Regions from separate parts of the Homo sapiens genome. Here all the other regions are linked to region 4. Evidence: promoter capture Hi-C in 16 types of primary human blood cells and fetal thymus (Javierre and others, 2016). All regions are on one chromosome and are shown on one strand. Each heading gives the region's core, a stretch centred on a gene start or on the middle of the fragment in contact. The rest is flanking DNA. Distances are from core to core; before and after follow the strand shown. Region 1 overlaps KRT40 (keratin 40). Region 2 has its middle 5.3 kb from the start of KRTAP17-1. Region 3 overlaps KRT23 (keratin 23). Region 4 holds the start of KRTAP4-2 (keratin associated protein 4-2).

What was found. The method cuts DNA at HindIII sites, captures the fragments that hold promoters and counts their contacts. A CHiCAGO score of 5 or more calls a contact.
Region 1: a contact is called between a fragment that was not itself captured here and the fragment with the promoter of KRTAP4-2 in region 4, in 1 of 17 cell types (endothelial precursors). The highest score is 5.1, in endothelial precursors.
Region 2: a fragment that was not itself captured here is called in contact with the fragment with the promoter of KRTAP4-2 in region 4 in 5 of 17 cell types (total CD4 T cells, naive CD8 T cells, naive B cells and 2 more); the score reaches 7.1 in total CD4 T cells.
Region 3: a contact is called between a fragment that was not itself captured here and the fragment with the promoter of KRTAP4-2 in region 4, in 1 of 17 cell types (naive B cells). The highest score is 5.4, in naive B cells.

The regions. Positions count from the first base shown.
Region 1 is chr17:40,978,958-40,982,463 of GRCh38, forward strand. KRT40 (keratin 40) reads right to left here. Exons shown (of 7, transcript NM_001389244.1): 3 at 3,350-3,506; 4 at 2,033-2,194; 5 at 1,828-1,953; 6 at 1-67. It overlaps LOC107985072 (a long non-coding RNA gene), which reads left to right. Exons shown (of 4, transcript XR_001752886.2): 3 at 1,492-1,650; 4 at 3,371-3,506. Among named protein-coding and RNA genes, the nearest start is that of KRT40, 3.6 kb to the right of the region's middle. RefSeq lists an enhancer at 1,049-1,650. The HindIII fragment of the contact is 2,975 bases long and covers 670-3,506 here.
Region 2 is chr17:41,319,400-41,322,687 of GRCh38, forward strand. No RefSeq gene overlaps it. Among named protein-coding and RNA genes, the nearest start is that of KRTAP17-1, 5.3 kb to the left of the region's middle. The HindIII fragment of the contact is 3,454 bases long and covers 1-3,232 here.
Region 3 is chr17:40,933,967-40,937,230 of GRCh38, forward strand. KRT23 (keratin 23) reads right to left here. Exons shown (of 9, transcript NM_015515.5): 2 at 2,242-2,987. The coding sequence starts at 2,637. All of the region lies in intron 1 of LOC107985072 (a long non-coding RNA gene), which reads left to right. Among named protein-coding and RNA genes, the nearest start is that of KRT23, 2.0 kb to the right of the region's middle. The HindIII fragment of the contact is 2,438 bases long and covers 796-3,233 here.
Region 4 is chr17:41,176,597-41,179,875 of GRCh38, forward strand. It overlaps KRTAP4-2 (keratin associated protein 4-2), which reads right to left and starts at 1,625. Exons shown (of 1, transcript NM_033062.4): 1 at 850-1,625. The coding sequence starts at 1,568. The coding sequence ends at 1,158. The HindIII fragment of the contact is 17,641 bases long and covers 1-3,279 here.

The DNA of each region.
Region 1 (3,506 bases), core at 907-3,406, 200 kb before region 4:
GAATTTGGGCCAGCTGGGAGCTGTACTGGGCCTCGGTTTCTGCCACGGTGCATTCCAGAGATTCTGTCTGCGGGAGGAAACATTGTCCAAAGGACCATGAAGTGCAGTCTCTCGGGCCAGAGTGCCTACTTTCAAATTCCTGCTTACCCTTTTCTAGCTATGTGACCACTGGCAAATTATTTAGCTTCTGTGAGTCTCAGTTTTATTCTCTGTATAGTGGAGAATACAAAGTATCTGTTTCATTAGACGGTTGTGAAGATTAAGAGTTAATATGCGGGCTGGGCGCGGTGGCTCAGGCCTGTAATCCCAGCACTTTGGGAGGCCGAGGCGGGCGGATCACAAGGTCAGAAGATCGAGACCATCCTGGCTAACACGGTGAAACCCCGTCTCTACTAAAAATATAAAAAATTAGCTGGGTACGGTGGTGGACGCCTGTAGTCCCAGCTACTCAGGAGAATGGTGTGAACCCGGGAGGCAAAGCTTGCAGTAAGTCAAGATCATGCCATTGCACTCCAGCCTGGGCGACAGAGGGAGACTCCGTCCAAAAAAAAAAAAAAAGAGTTAATGTGCGTAAAGCATTTAGAACAGTGCCAGCCATACTGCCACTGTTCTACGTGTCAACTATCACTACCACCACTATGACTACAGCAATACATGACATATTTGTGAAGCTTAAGGACTATCCACAACATATGAGAGGAAAGATTGAGTTTGGGCTCTTGGCAGGGAGGGGTAGTATAGTGCTATTAAGAGAAGAGGCTCTGGATACCAGAGGCTGGGACTGGCATATGTGTGGTAAGGGGATGAAGAGAGGTTGGTTAATGGGTGCAAACATACAGTTAGACAGAAAGAATATGTTTTCATGTTGGACAGCAGAGAAGTGTGACTACAGTTAACAACAATACACTGTGCATTTCAAAATAGCTAGATGGGAGGACTTGAAATGCTCCCAACACATAGAAATGATAAATACTTGAGGTGATGGATGCTCTAAATATCCTGACTTGATCATTACACATTCTATGCATGTAACAAAATATCACATCTACGTAAAAAAAATTTACGCATATTATATATCAATAAAAATAAATTTAAAAAGAGAGAGAGAAGAGACTCTGGGATTCAACTGGCTGAACTCAGCTTCCAAGTTTGCCTCTTAGAATTGCATCCTTTGCAAGTTACTTAATCTGAGTCTCAGTTTTCCTTATCTGTGTCATGGGATAAAGGTATCTATCCGGTAAAGTTACTGTGAGCCTTAAATCAGCATAGTGCCTCTCACAGGATGAATGCTCAGCTATTGTTCTTCTAGGTGTTCTCCGCAGGGCCTAATGACATGCACACAGTGGTGCTTGACCAGAACTGGTTCATGTCATCTTGAACGCATGGTGTTCCTGTTGCTTGAGTGGGGGGTGGTGCAGTGAAGGATAAGGTTGAAGTGTAGATCCTGGGAAACTGTAGGATGAAATGTTTGAAAATGATTCTTTGTTTTAGATATAACAGTGAGCCTGGAAAACTGGCCTGAATCAAATGAGAATTAAAACCTGCCAGAATGCTTAAGCGACCATGGCCCGGAGGTTTCTCTCCAGCTCTGCTTCTCCCTCCCTGTCTCTGGAGGCTGCTGCAGCATCAGACTCAAGCCCAGGAGTGAAGGTAAGGCATCTTAGAGGACAAGCTGTGGACCTGTCACTTCTGCTTCTATTAATAGCTGGGTAAACGGCAGTACTCGGGAAAGGCAAGGAAATGTGATCCTCGGATATGGAAGAGGGCTTAACATCTCAGGGCCTGACTTATCAGTGACACAACGGACACTGCCTTTGCCTCACGCACCAGGCTTTGCTGTGCTTGGAGCTCAATTTCCAGAGCACTGGCTGTGCGTTTCAGTTCCAAGATCTCCATCTGGCAGCCCTGCAGCTGCTCCGCGCTGGACAGTTGCTGCTGATTCAGCTCTTCTGTCTGAAACACAGACACCATTAGAGAATTCAAAAAAGGCAGAAGTCTGTAAGCCTGACATTTTTTCAATCTGGGTACTGACCTGAACAGCCAACCATTCTTCAGCTTCTCTGCGATTGTTGGCAAGCACCGTTTCACACTGACAGCGCATCTCATCCAGGACCCTGTTGAGGTCAAGGGTGGGGGCAGTGTCCAGCTCCACACTGAGGCGGTCGCCAAGCTGTTCACGAAGCAAGTTGACTTCCTGAAAGTGGGATGGTGTAAAGAATGTCACAGAATGGTGGGGAAAAATCCATTTGACATCCAATGGCATTCTACTTCTGTTTTTTGGAGCAGTGGGTAAAAGTGTGAGATTTTGATTCAGATTGCCTGGGCTGAATCTCTTTTCACCACTTAGAAGGGCCTCAGTTTCTTCGTCTGTAAAATGGACATAATAATTGGACATTTTTCCAGAAAGTTATTGTGAGATCTAGAAGAGTCAATCTACACATAATTAACTTATAAAAGTTAATTATGACACATAGTAAGGTGTCAATAAATGTTAGCTATGATTGTCATCAACAAACGTTCAAAGAGCAAATGTACTTTGTTACATCATTCAGCTTTTCATTTTCTAGCTTTATCAATATATCAGTGGCTGTATATTTTATGATTTTTAGAAGTTTATAAATGCGGAATATTTAAAAACACTGGTCCAGATAGTGCACAGTCTTTATCCCTTTTTTGAAATGGACTTCACAGTCTGTTCCTCAGCCTGATTTTCATACCCTGTGGACTGGAGCTAGGGGTGGCATAAAGCCTCCAAAGGAAGCCATTTGTGAAGTTACCTCCTCCACAAAGGCAAGGGCAGGAGAAGAGTTTGATTCCTTCCTCTGGCGCTGTCTAGGGGTTATTTCACACCTTAAATCAGAGACACACTGGAATGATCAGGTTGAATAGTAATAATGCCTCGAGTAGTTTTTGTTTGTTTGTTTGTTTGTTTGTTTTTTGAGATGGAGTCTCGCCCTGTCACCCAGGCTGGAGTGCAGTGGTAAGATCTCGGCTCACTGCAACCTCCGCCTCCTGAGTTCAAGTGATTCTCCTGCCTCAGCCTCCCGAGTAGCTAGGACTACAGGCGCCTGCCACCATGCCCAGCTAATTTTTGTATTTTTAGTAGAGATGAGGTTTCATCATATTGGTCAGGCTGGTCTCGAACTCCTGACCTTGTGATCCTCCTGCCTCAGCCTCCCAAAGTGCTTGGATTACAGGTGTGAGCCACCATGCCTGGCCCTGCCTCAAGTAGTTTTATTCCAGCTTAAACAACATCTGCCCAAATTCGATTTACAAACATCAACAGATCATCTGTCAATGTAAGTACGTTACTCTCGGAGTCCTTCAGCGGAGTTGCCACTTTCCTTACCTCTTCATGGTTTTTCTTAAGGCAAAGGAGATCTTCCTTCAGAGACTCCACATGGGCCTCCAGATCAGATTTGCACAGGGTCAGTTCCTCCAGGATCCCATGCAGGCTGCTGATGTCAGCCTCTAACAGCTGGCGAAGGGACAGTTCACTCTCGTAC
Region 2 (3,288 bases), core at 256-2,755, 140 kb after region 4:
ATATATTTTGATAACACATTATGTAATAAGGAGTGAAGAGACAGATAGTCTCACACATTGCTGATGGGAGTGTAAATTGGTACAACCTTTATGGCAATATCCATCAAAATTACCAATGCAAAAACTAATTGATCCAATAATTTATATTCTAAGAGTTTACGACAGGGATATATCAAGATATATATAAAATGATGTAAGTATACAGTATCTGTTGCAACATGGCTCCAGAATCAACACTATCAAACTACCAACATCATTTTTAACAGAATTTGAAAAAACTATTCTAAATTTCATATGGAACCAGAAAAGATCCCAAAGAGCCAATGCAATCCTAAGCAGAAAGAACAAAGTGGAAGGTATCACGTTACCCAATTTCAAACTATAGTGTAAAGCTACAGTAACCAAAACAGCATGGTACTGGTACAAAAACAGACATATACAATGGAACAGAATAGAGAATCCGGAAATAAAGCTGCTCACCTACAGCCACCTGATCTTTGACAAAGTTAACAAAAATAAGCATTGGGGAAAGGACTCCCGATTCAATAAATGGTGCTGGGATAACTGGCTAGCCATATGCAGAAGAATTAAACAACCTCTGTATTTCACCATATAGAAAAATTAACTCAAGATGGATTAAAGATTTAAATGTAAGGCCTCAAACTATAAGAATCCTAGAAGAAAAACTAGGAAACATCATTCTGAACACTAGTCTTGGGAAAAAATGCATTACTAAGTTCTCAAAAACAAATGCAACAAAAACAAAAATTGACAAGTGGGATCTATTTAAATGAAAGAGCTTCAGCACAGTAAAAGAAACTATCAACAGAGTAAACAGATAACCTATAGAATGGAAGAAAATATCCACAAACTATGCATCCAAAAAAGATCTAATATCCAGAATCTATGAAAAACTTAAACAATTCAACAAGGAAAAAACAAATGACCCTGTTAAAAAGTGGGCAAAAGACATGAACAGACACTTCTCAAAAGAAGACATGCGAGTGGTCAACAAACATGTGAAAAAATGCTCCACATCATTAATCATCAGAGAAATGCAAATCAAAACCACAGTAAGATACCATCTCACACCAGTCAGAATGGCAATTATTAAAAAGTCAAAAAACAACAGATGTTGGTGAGGGTGTAGAGAAAAGGGACCGCTTATACACTGTTGGTGGGAATGTAAATTAGTTCAGCCACTGTGGAACGCAGTTTAGAGATTTCTCAAAGAACTTCAAATAGAACTACCATTCAACCCAGCAATCCCATTACTGGGTGTATTAGTCTGTTCTTGCACTACTATGAAGAAATGCCTGAGACTGGGTAATTTAGAAAGAAAAGAGGATTAATTGGCTCACAGTTTCATAAGCTATACAGGAAGCATGATGCAGGCATCTTCTCAGGTTCTGGGGAGGCCTCAGAAAACTTACAATCATGGCAGCAGGCAAAGGGTAGCTGGCACTTCACATGGCCAGGGCAGGAGGAAGAGAGAGAGTGGGGAGATGCTACACACTTTTAAATGACCAGATCTCACAAGAACTCACTCACTATCACAACCAAGGGGGCTAGTGCTAAACCATTCATCAGAAATCACCCCTGTGATCCAATCACCTCCCACCAGGACCCACCTGCAACGCTGGGAATTAACAACTGAACATGAGATTTGGGCAGGAACACAGATCCAAATTATATCACTGGGTATACATCCAAAAGAAAATAAATCGTTCTACCAAAAAAACACACATCCACTTATATGTTCATTGCAGCACTATTCACAATAGCAAAGACATAGAATCAGCCTAAATGCCCATCAGCAGTGGACTATGTAAGGAAAATGTGGCACACATACACCATGGAATACTACCTGGCCATAAAAAAAAAAATCATGTCATTTGCAGCAACATGGATGCAGCTGGAGGCCATTATCCTAAGTGAATTAATACAAGAACAGAAAGCTAAATACCATGTGTTCTCACTTACAAGTGGGAGCTAAACAGTGAATTCACATGGACGTAAATATGGCAACAATAGACACTGGAGACTATGAGAGGGGAAAGGGAAGGAGAGGAGCAAGGGTAGAAAAACTAACTATTGGTTACTATGCTCACTATCTGGATGATGAGATCAATTGTACCACAAACCTCAGCATATATACCCAGGTAGCAAACCTACACGTATACCCCCTGAATCCAAAAGAAAAGTTGAAATTATTTTTTTAATTACTCTCCAGAAAAATTGTCCTCATTTGTGTTCACTTCACAGTGCCTTCGCCAATATTAGTTGTTATTTTTAAAATCTCTTTGTCAATTGGGTAGGCCAATTATGAAGTCTCATTATAGTATTTATTTGTACTTAGTAATTATCATTGCATATTTTTATAGGCCACTGTTATTTCCTTTTTAGAAATTATCTGCTCATTCTAATTAGCTACCCATCTTTCCCACCTTACTTATATGAACTTATTTTATTATGCCAGGTATATTAACTTTTCGTTGTGTCACTCACACATGTTGCAAAATTTGTCCCAGGGTGTATCACTTTCTTTTAGTTGTGTCTATATTTTTACGCACAGAAATTTCTTTCTATGTAGGGAAATCTTTTTTTCCTAGTGTTTTGTTTCAAAAGTTCTCCTCCATCCCCAAATCAGACAACTATTTGCTTTATTTTCATCTATTTTATGGTTGTATTTTTTATACTTAATGCTGCTATCCATCAGGAATTTACTTTGGTGTGTGGCAGATACTGCTTTACAAAAAAAAAAAAAAATCCTAGTTTTCCTAATTGGGGAACTTGACTGCCTATTAAATGAAGTTTGCTGACAAGATCCTGCCTCTACAAAAAATTAAAAAATAAAAAATTTGCTGGGTGTGGTGGTGCATGCCTGTAGTCCCAGCTACTCAGAAGGCTGAGGCAGGAGGATGGCTTGAGCCTAAGAGCTCAAGGCTGCAGTGACTGAGCTCAAGGAGCCATGATCAAGCCACTACACTCCAGCCTGGGCAATGGAGCGAGACCCTGTCTCTAATAAATAAAAAAAATAGTTTCTGTACAAGAAAGAACAGAATGTAGAGATCAAAAACGCAATCATGTCGTCTGTTCTGGCAGCCTCTAGTGTTCATCTCATGATATTACACAAGCAGCTTCTAGTGTTTCCTTTAGAAGCACTCACAAGACAGGCTCTGACACTAGATTCACCAGAAGCAACTCAACAAAAATTTGGTTTGATGAGAGAAGCTTATTATATTTACATGGAACTAATTTAAACCATGCATCCAATTAACGATCTCT
Region 3 (3,264 bases), core at 765-3,264, 240 kb before region 4:
GTAAACAAAAATGCCAAATATAGTCCGATTGAGAATCATTCAAGGTGTTTTATTTATGATACTCCTATGACTGTGTCCAATTCTGGATTTCAAAAGGATTGAATTAATTTTTAAGCTCAACTTGTTATCAACCTTTTGAGTGATATTTAATATACCTAAAGTGAGGGTACGGGAGAACTGTATCCACTCAGAGCATTTCACCAAGGTCCAGGAAGGATAAGCCCCAGGTAATTGTGGGACCTCCTTGCACCTCTGTTTTCTCATCTTCAAATGAGGGAGGTTGGGGTAGATAGACAACCTCAACTTTAAAGAGTTTCTTTCTTCAAGTGTAGAGAAAACACAATGTTAGAGGTAAAAATCCAGAAAAGAGTGAAATTCAAAGCCAAAGAAGTTTCCTATTCAATCTCAGAACCCAGAATTCCAGGTCATCTGAAGGGTGGGCAGGTTGCTCCCCACACCCCCCATTGCACCTACTCACTTTTCTCAATTCTGTTCCAAAGGATTTAGACAATGATTAGGTCTCAGTCTCCTTATCTGTAAGTTGAGAATACAAATACCTGCTCCACACAGTTGTGAGGATTAAATGAGACAATGTGTATGAAGTATGTGATGTGTGGTTAATGATGCAAGTATAATGCATTATCTTTATTCATACTAAGTGTCATTTTTATATGAGGTGGGCTAGGCAGCACTACACTGTAGTGAAATTTATGAGGCTACTGGAAACAGACCTGAGTTAGAATCCCACCTCTGCTTCTTGCTGATGGCTTTGGATGGCTATTTCACTTTTTTCCAAGCTTCCATTTCCTTACAGGGTTCTTGCAGAATCAAATAAAATAATATGGAACATTTCCATCATTGCAGAAAACTCTTGGATAGTGTTGACATGTGTATTAAATATCCAGCAGGATGCCTAGGTACATAATAAGTGCTCAGTAAACATTTCCCTCTCTTTCCTCCCTTTCTTTTTTTTAAATCTCTTCCGCGAGCTCATAAATTATTTGACTGGTTCTAACCTTGTATTTCTTTTGGGAGTCATGGTCTCCCTTTGCTCTCCATTTGCAAAAATCTTCAATTCCTCCTTTCTACAACCAAAGCAACTTTATTAAACAAAAAAACATGATGAGGACTGTTGAGTCACCTTGTTTTTTTTTTTTTTTCATAAAGACAACCATGCACTATATAGTTAAGGTAATTACAGTCAGTTATTAGGTTGATTATTCAATAATTAGGGTTCATTACAAGGACAGATTTATATTATCTTGACTGGTCCTTCCTACATTCAAGCAAGGATGACTGAGCATTGTGAAATAATATATATAAATATTGGAAACTTGTGATACCCTTTCTAGGGGAGGTTAAATCATGGTCTTACAGGGAATTTTCTGGGACTGCTTTATATAAGAGGGGAGTTAGATAGCTTTAAAACATAACCTATGAGATGATTGGATTCCTTCTACTTCTAGCTAATGTTATGAGACATCCCAGAAGGTATTTGCTTAGCTTTTTTGAGGTTTGGTTAAAGAGTTCGGTTTTTTTTGAACAAGGTCTTTATAGCCATCTCAACTCTCAGATTCTAAAAATTATGCTCATTTTATTATTATTGGTTCTAGCAATATGCCATTGTCAGAACTGTGAGCAACTTTACTGCAAGCAACCCACAAACGGAAATATCTAGGGATGTCATGATGACCTATATGCTGGTGTGGTGACAACTTTTAGGCATAATCTTCAAAATAGTGTAACAGCCTTTTGTCGATGGATAACCACATTGTTCAAAAAAGTTTGAGGTGGAGCAGAACTGAGGTAATGAGAAAGTAAACACTCTCTTATGCCTGGTGCACTGAGCATGCAGCATGAACACCAGCCCTTATCATTTCTATGACATCGTTGGGTCATAAGTGACATTAAACAGCAGCTGGTTGCCTCACATTTTAAAGATGTTTTTGGTCTGTGAGAAATCAGTAGTCTCATTTTTGAAACAGTCTGTAGCACTTCTATCATTTTTGCTGCCTTCTTTTTCTACATTATCCATGGACAGTAGACTAATTAAACAAAACAGACGTTTCCCACTCCAAATTTAAGATATAATAAGAAAACATCCCCCAAAACCTTTGTGCACAATTACTTCAAGCGCTGATGCCATTTTCCTGGAAATTGTCTTCTGGACTCATTTTTCCTCCCGAGGGTCCCCTGGCAAAGCAGCCCCATCTGGATCTCCAGGGTCACCCAGCATCTTACCTGCTCCTGCAGGTGTGTGATGTTTTCCTCATACTGGGAATAATCTTTCTTACTGCCAGGATCTCTCTGCTGGTGCCATTTCAGGATGCGGCTTTCCAGCTTCATGTTGGCCTCCTCCAGGGCGCGAACCTTCTCCAGGTAGGAGGCCAGGCGGTCGTTGAGATTCTGCATGGTGGCCTTCCCATTTCCGCCTAGTAGGGGGCTGCTTCTTCCAGAACCCCAAGACCCTCCAGGGGGTGGGCAGCTCCGCGTGGTGAAGGACAGGGAGATGCGGGCTCCCCCCGCACCGCCATGGACGGTGGGAGCCCTGGGGAAGCTCCTGGGCCGGCCCCAGCCACCTCCGGCGCCATGGAAGGAGGCCGAGGGGGTCTGGCTGAAGCTGTGTCCGGAGTTCATGGTCCCATCTGTGTTTGGGACGGGGCTGAGCTCTGCTCCACTCCCTGGCACCGCAGAACTGAGCCGCCCCAGACTGCCCTGGATGGTTTTATGGCCTTTGCTGTGGGAGTTCCCTTCTCTGACAATTGTACCAACAAGATTGTATCATTGTGCAACTTGTGTTTCCTCTTGGTCAATCCCAAAGTGCCCCTGGGCCTTCGCACACTGTTGTTGTTTAGAGCCACATCAATATGACAGTTTGCTTCCTCCCTTCCCCTGGTAACCCGGAGGTGTGGCCCACGACATCAGGCGGGTATTGGGCTCAGGTATCTTTCTAATCTTGCCGTGAAGTTTTTCCATTGTTCATTTACCTGGAATGGGTTAGGTTAAAGTCCACCCAAAAGAAAGCATATTCGATGTAGTATAGATTTCCTTAAAAAAAACCAAAAACCAAAACCAAAACAAAACAACAACAACAGCAACAAAAAACCAGACATTAAACAACAGAGATACACACACCTTTTTCCACCCCCAATAAGCCCCACCTCTAAAGGGAGGGTGAGCGAGCCTGGAGAAGGGAAAGCCAGCTCAGAACAGGATCTCAGGTCCCAGAATAAAGCTTGCTGTGCTGAGGCAGCCGAGAAGGTG
Region 4 (3,279 bases), core at 375-2,874:
GTGGTTGTGTCCTATCCCTCAGATAAAACGATGTGAAGAAAAAAACAATCAAAGACAACTAGTTTAAAAGCAAACATGCATATTGAAATAAAAACTTTAAAAATTAAAATTCTTAAAAGAAGACCAAAAAAGTAAATGAACAAATAATAGAAAAAAATTGTAATGCGCAAAAATTGAAAAGAAAAAAAACAGCAAAATGTTCAGAGGTGTCCATTCAGGTGACAGTAAACTCAAGAGTTGATCAAAATCTATGGTAACCATTCATATTGTACAAAAACATTTTGAAGGACACTAATACTGAGATTAGGAATGCTGCTGTTTTAGATTGTGTGCTCTCTGGGGCAAACCCACAAAAGAGGATCTGAGAACATGTGGTATATTTGGACGATTAACCCAAGAAACACTGGAGGAAACTTGAAGAATGACCCTGGGAAGGAGGGAAAGTCATTATAGAGTGAGTTCATGATCAGAATGTTCCTGCAGGCATCTGGTATAAATCCCGCTGAAGACCTCTGGAAGACTGGTTTGACATACCCCCCACTGGAGGGAAACAAGCCAGGGCATATATTACCAACTCCCACTCATTCTCTGAGTGCTGTTCCTAGAGGCTTTAAGTCTCCAGCCCAGAGTTTGCTCCTTTATCCAGAGAAAGTCCTCAGGTAGAGAGTTCCAGGTGCCTGCTCTAAGGAACCATTTTCCTATGTTTGAATGGAGAGTGCTGATAGGATAGAGGTGGAGCCCCTGATATCATCTGCTGTGGTCTTCTCCCTCTGCAGGGAAGAACATCAGAAAATTTGACAGGTAAGGATGAGAATTCAAGAAGGAAAAATGAGACACAATGCCCGTATATTATTTGTATGCCTCAAAAATTAAAATTTATTTAAGATAGAGGAATAGCTCCATGTGATAAATTATGGTAGAGAGCAAATATTTCAATTCAGGGAACATGGGGTTGACATATTTCAGAGAAAATTCAAACTTGTATTCATTTGGTAGAGGGTAGCAACATAGTGTTTGGTGAGCATATTTGGAGGCCAAACTCAATCCAAGAATTGGTTGGAACTGAGGTTGTCCAATTGGCCTTGCATGATTCAGTTCACAGGTGGATCATATCAAGAATGCTGGTTAATAAAGGCAGGTGAGTATAGGTGAGGGCATCAGCAGCAAGAGCCACTAGAGCAGGTTGGGCGGCAGCAGGTGGACACACAGCAGCTGGGGCGGTAGCAGGTGGTCCTGCAGCAGGTGGTCTGGCCACAGCTGGGGCGGCAGCAGGTGGGCTGGCAGTACACAGACTGGCAGCACTGGGGTCTGAAGCAGCTGGACACACAGCAGCTGGGACGGCAGCAGGTGGTCCTGCAGCAAGTGGTCTGGCAGCAGCTGGGGCTGCAGCAGGTGGGCTGGCAGCACACAGACTGGCAGCACTGCGGTCTGCAGCAGCTGGACACACAGCAGCTGGGGCGGCAGCAGGTGGTCCTGCAGCAGGTGGTCTGGCAGCAGCTGGGACGGCAGCAGTTCTCTAGGCCACAGCCCTGGTCAGAGCACACAGAGCCACAACAGGAGTTGACCATGGTGTCAGAGGGTGGAGGTTCTGGGTGGATTTCCAGGAAGGTGGGTTTGGAAGGTTTGGAAGTTTCCTTGCCCCAGATCCTCTTTTATACCCTGCTAAGGCCTGATGTCATCAGATGCAACACTCTTTCCTTGTTATTATTTGTCCTGATATGTAGGCAATTATCAAATTAGGCAAGTTTGTTGTTCTGGTTAACTTATCCACATAGATGGAAACACTGTCTCCTTTCCCTAATGTGTTAGGACTCCTTAGCTCAGCTCTTCCTGAACCACCTCCTGTGTCTCTCTTACTATAGCTTCCTCCTAGAGCAGCCATGTGACATCTGCCTGTAAGCACATACTATGTGCTTCAGTCTCATTTGCTTAACACATCATGACTACTCTTGGGTGATTACTATTCTTACAGGCCCTTGACTCTTTCTGGTGACTCAGGAGGATAAAGCTGCATTTCAGTCTGATGGCTCCTTCATTATGGGTCAGATGGCCTGTGAAGGTTTCAGTGTGAAACAGATTTCAGTGTGAAACAGATGACCACTGGTGTGAGAACGAGAACACCGTAGGACCTATCGCTTTTTTATCTTCCGCACTCTGAATTGTGACCCATTTTCTAGACCTTCTGATGAGAAATACAGAGCTGTTTTAAGGTGGAAAACTAAGCTGTGAAAGTTTGATGTTTCCTTTTCTACAGAAACAACCCTCCAAAATTCAGATTCAGGGCCTCTTGGGGAATGTTGGCTTCAGAGAACAGCTATACTTAAAGGTCCAAGTCCCTCATTTTTTTGCTCCCTGGGGCAGATTTTCCTTGTGACTTTGCCTTTCTGCCTTCCTAGCTCTAACAGGGCACATGAGCTCATCTCTCCAGGTTCCAAAATTTTCTGGCCAACCCAAATTAGATGACTCAGTATCCTTTGCTTGCTCTAATTCGCTCCCAGCCCTCTTGCTTTCTCTGCTGAATTGCTGGGCCTTGAAGATGTCCTATACTCTGCTGCTTCCTTATAGAAGTTGTTGATCCAATTTCACACTTTACATCTTTGTTTTCAAAAAATAAATCAATAAAGAGAGAAAGAAAGCAGAAAACAGGTATCAAGAACAAAGGATATCAGCCTATATTTTTTCATGTAGGGATGGCTGACTATTGTTTCAAAAATGTGCTATGTTGTCAATTCATTAACTCATCAGTTAATAAATATATATGTATTTCCCCACCCCTGAGGAGTCAAGGAACCCAGGGAAGGGGGTGGAAAAATGTCTGACTTACCATGATAGAAATGTTTTATGAACTGGGCAGCCTCTGCAGATAATCAGGGGAGGAGTTTCAGTGTAAGCTGGTGTTTCTGAGGGAGATCCAAGAACCAGATGGAGGGGATTGGATGAATGAGGGAGATTCCCTTTCTTCTCTCAGGTGCTTATAAGTCTAATAAATCAAATTGTGGTGTTCTTATGATGCTGCTATGTTCCAAGCCAGTTCCTACTCCTGCCCTGGCCCTAATTTCCAGGTGATTCAAGCAGAATGAAAACAACTTGGGCTCCCAAGTGAACCCCTGCTTGGTGCGCTGGCTGGTGTTCTGAGCCTGCACTGTTCTCTGGCTCTGATGTACCCAGACATCATATTTTATTGAGGGATGAAAGTGGGTTCCATGATGCTGTGGAATTAAGACCCTGTGAGCCCCATGGTGGTGTACGAGAACAACTCTAAGATTTCCAGGAGACCTT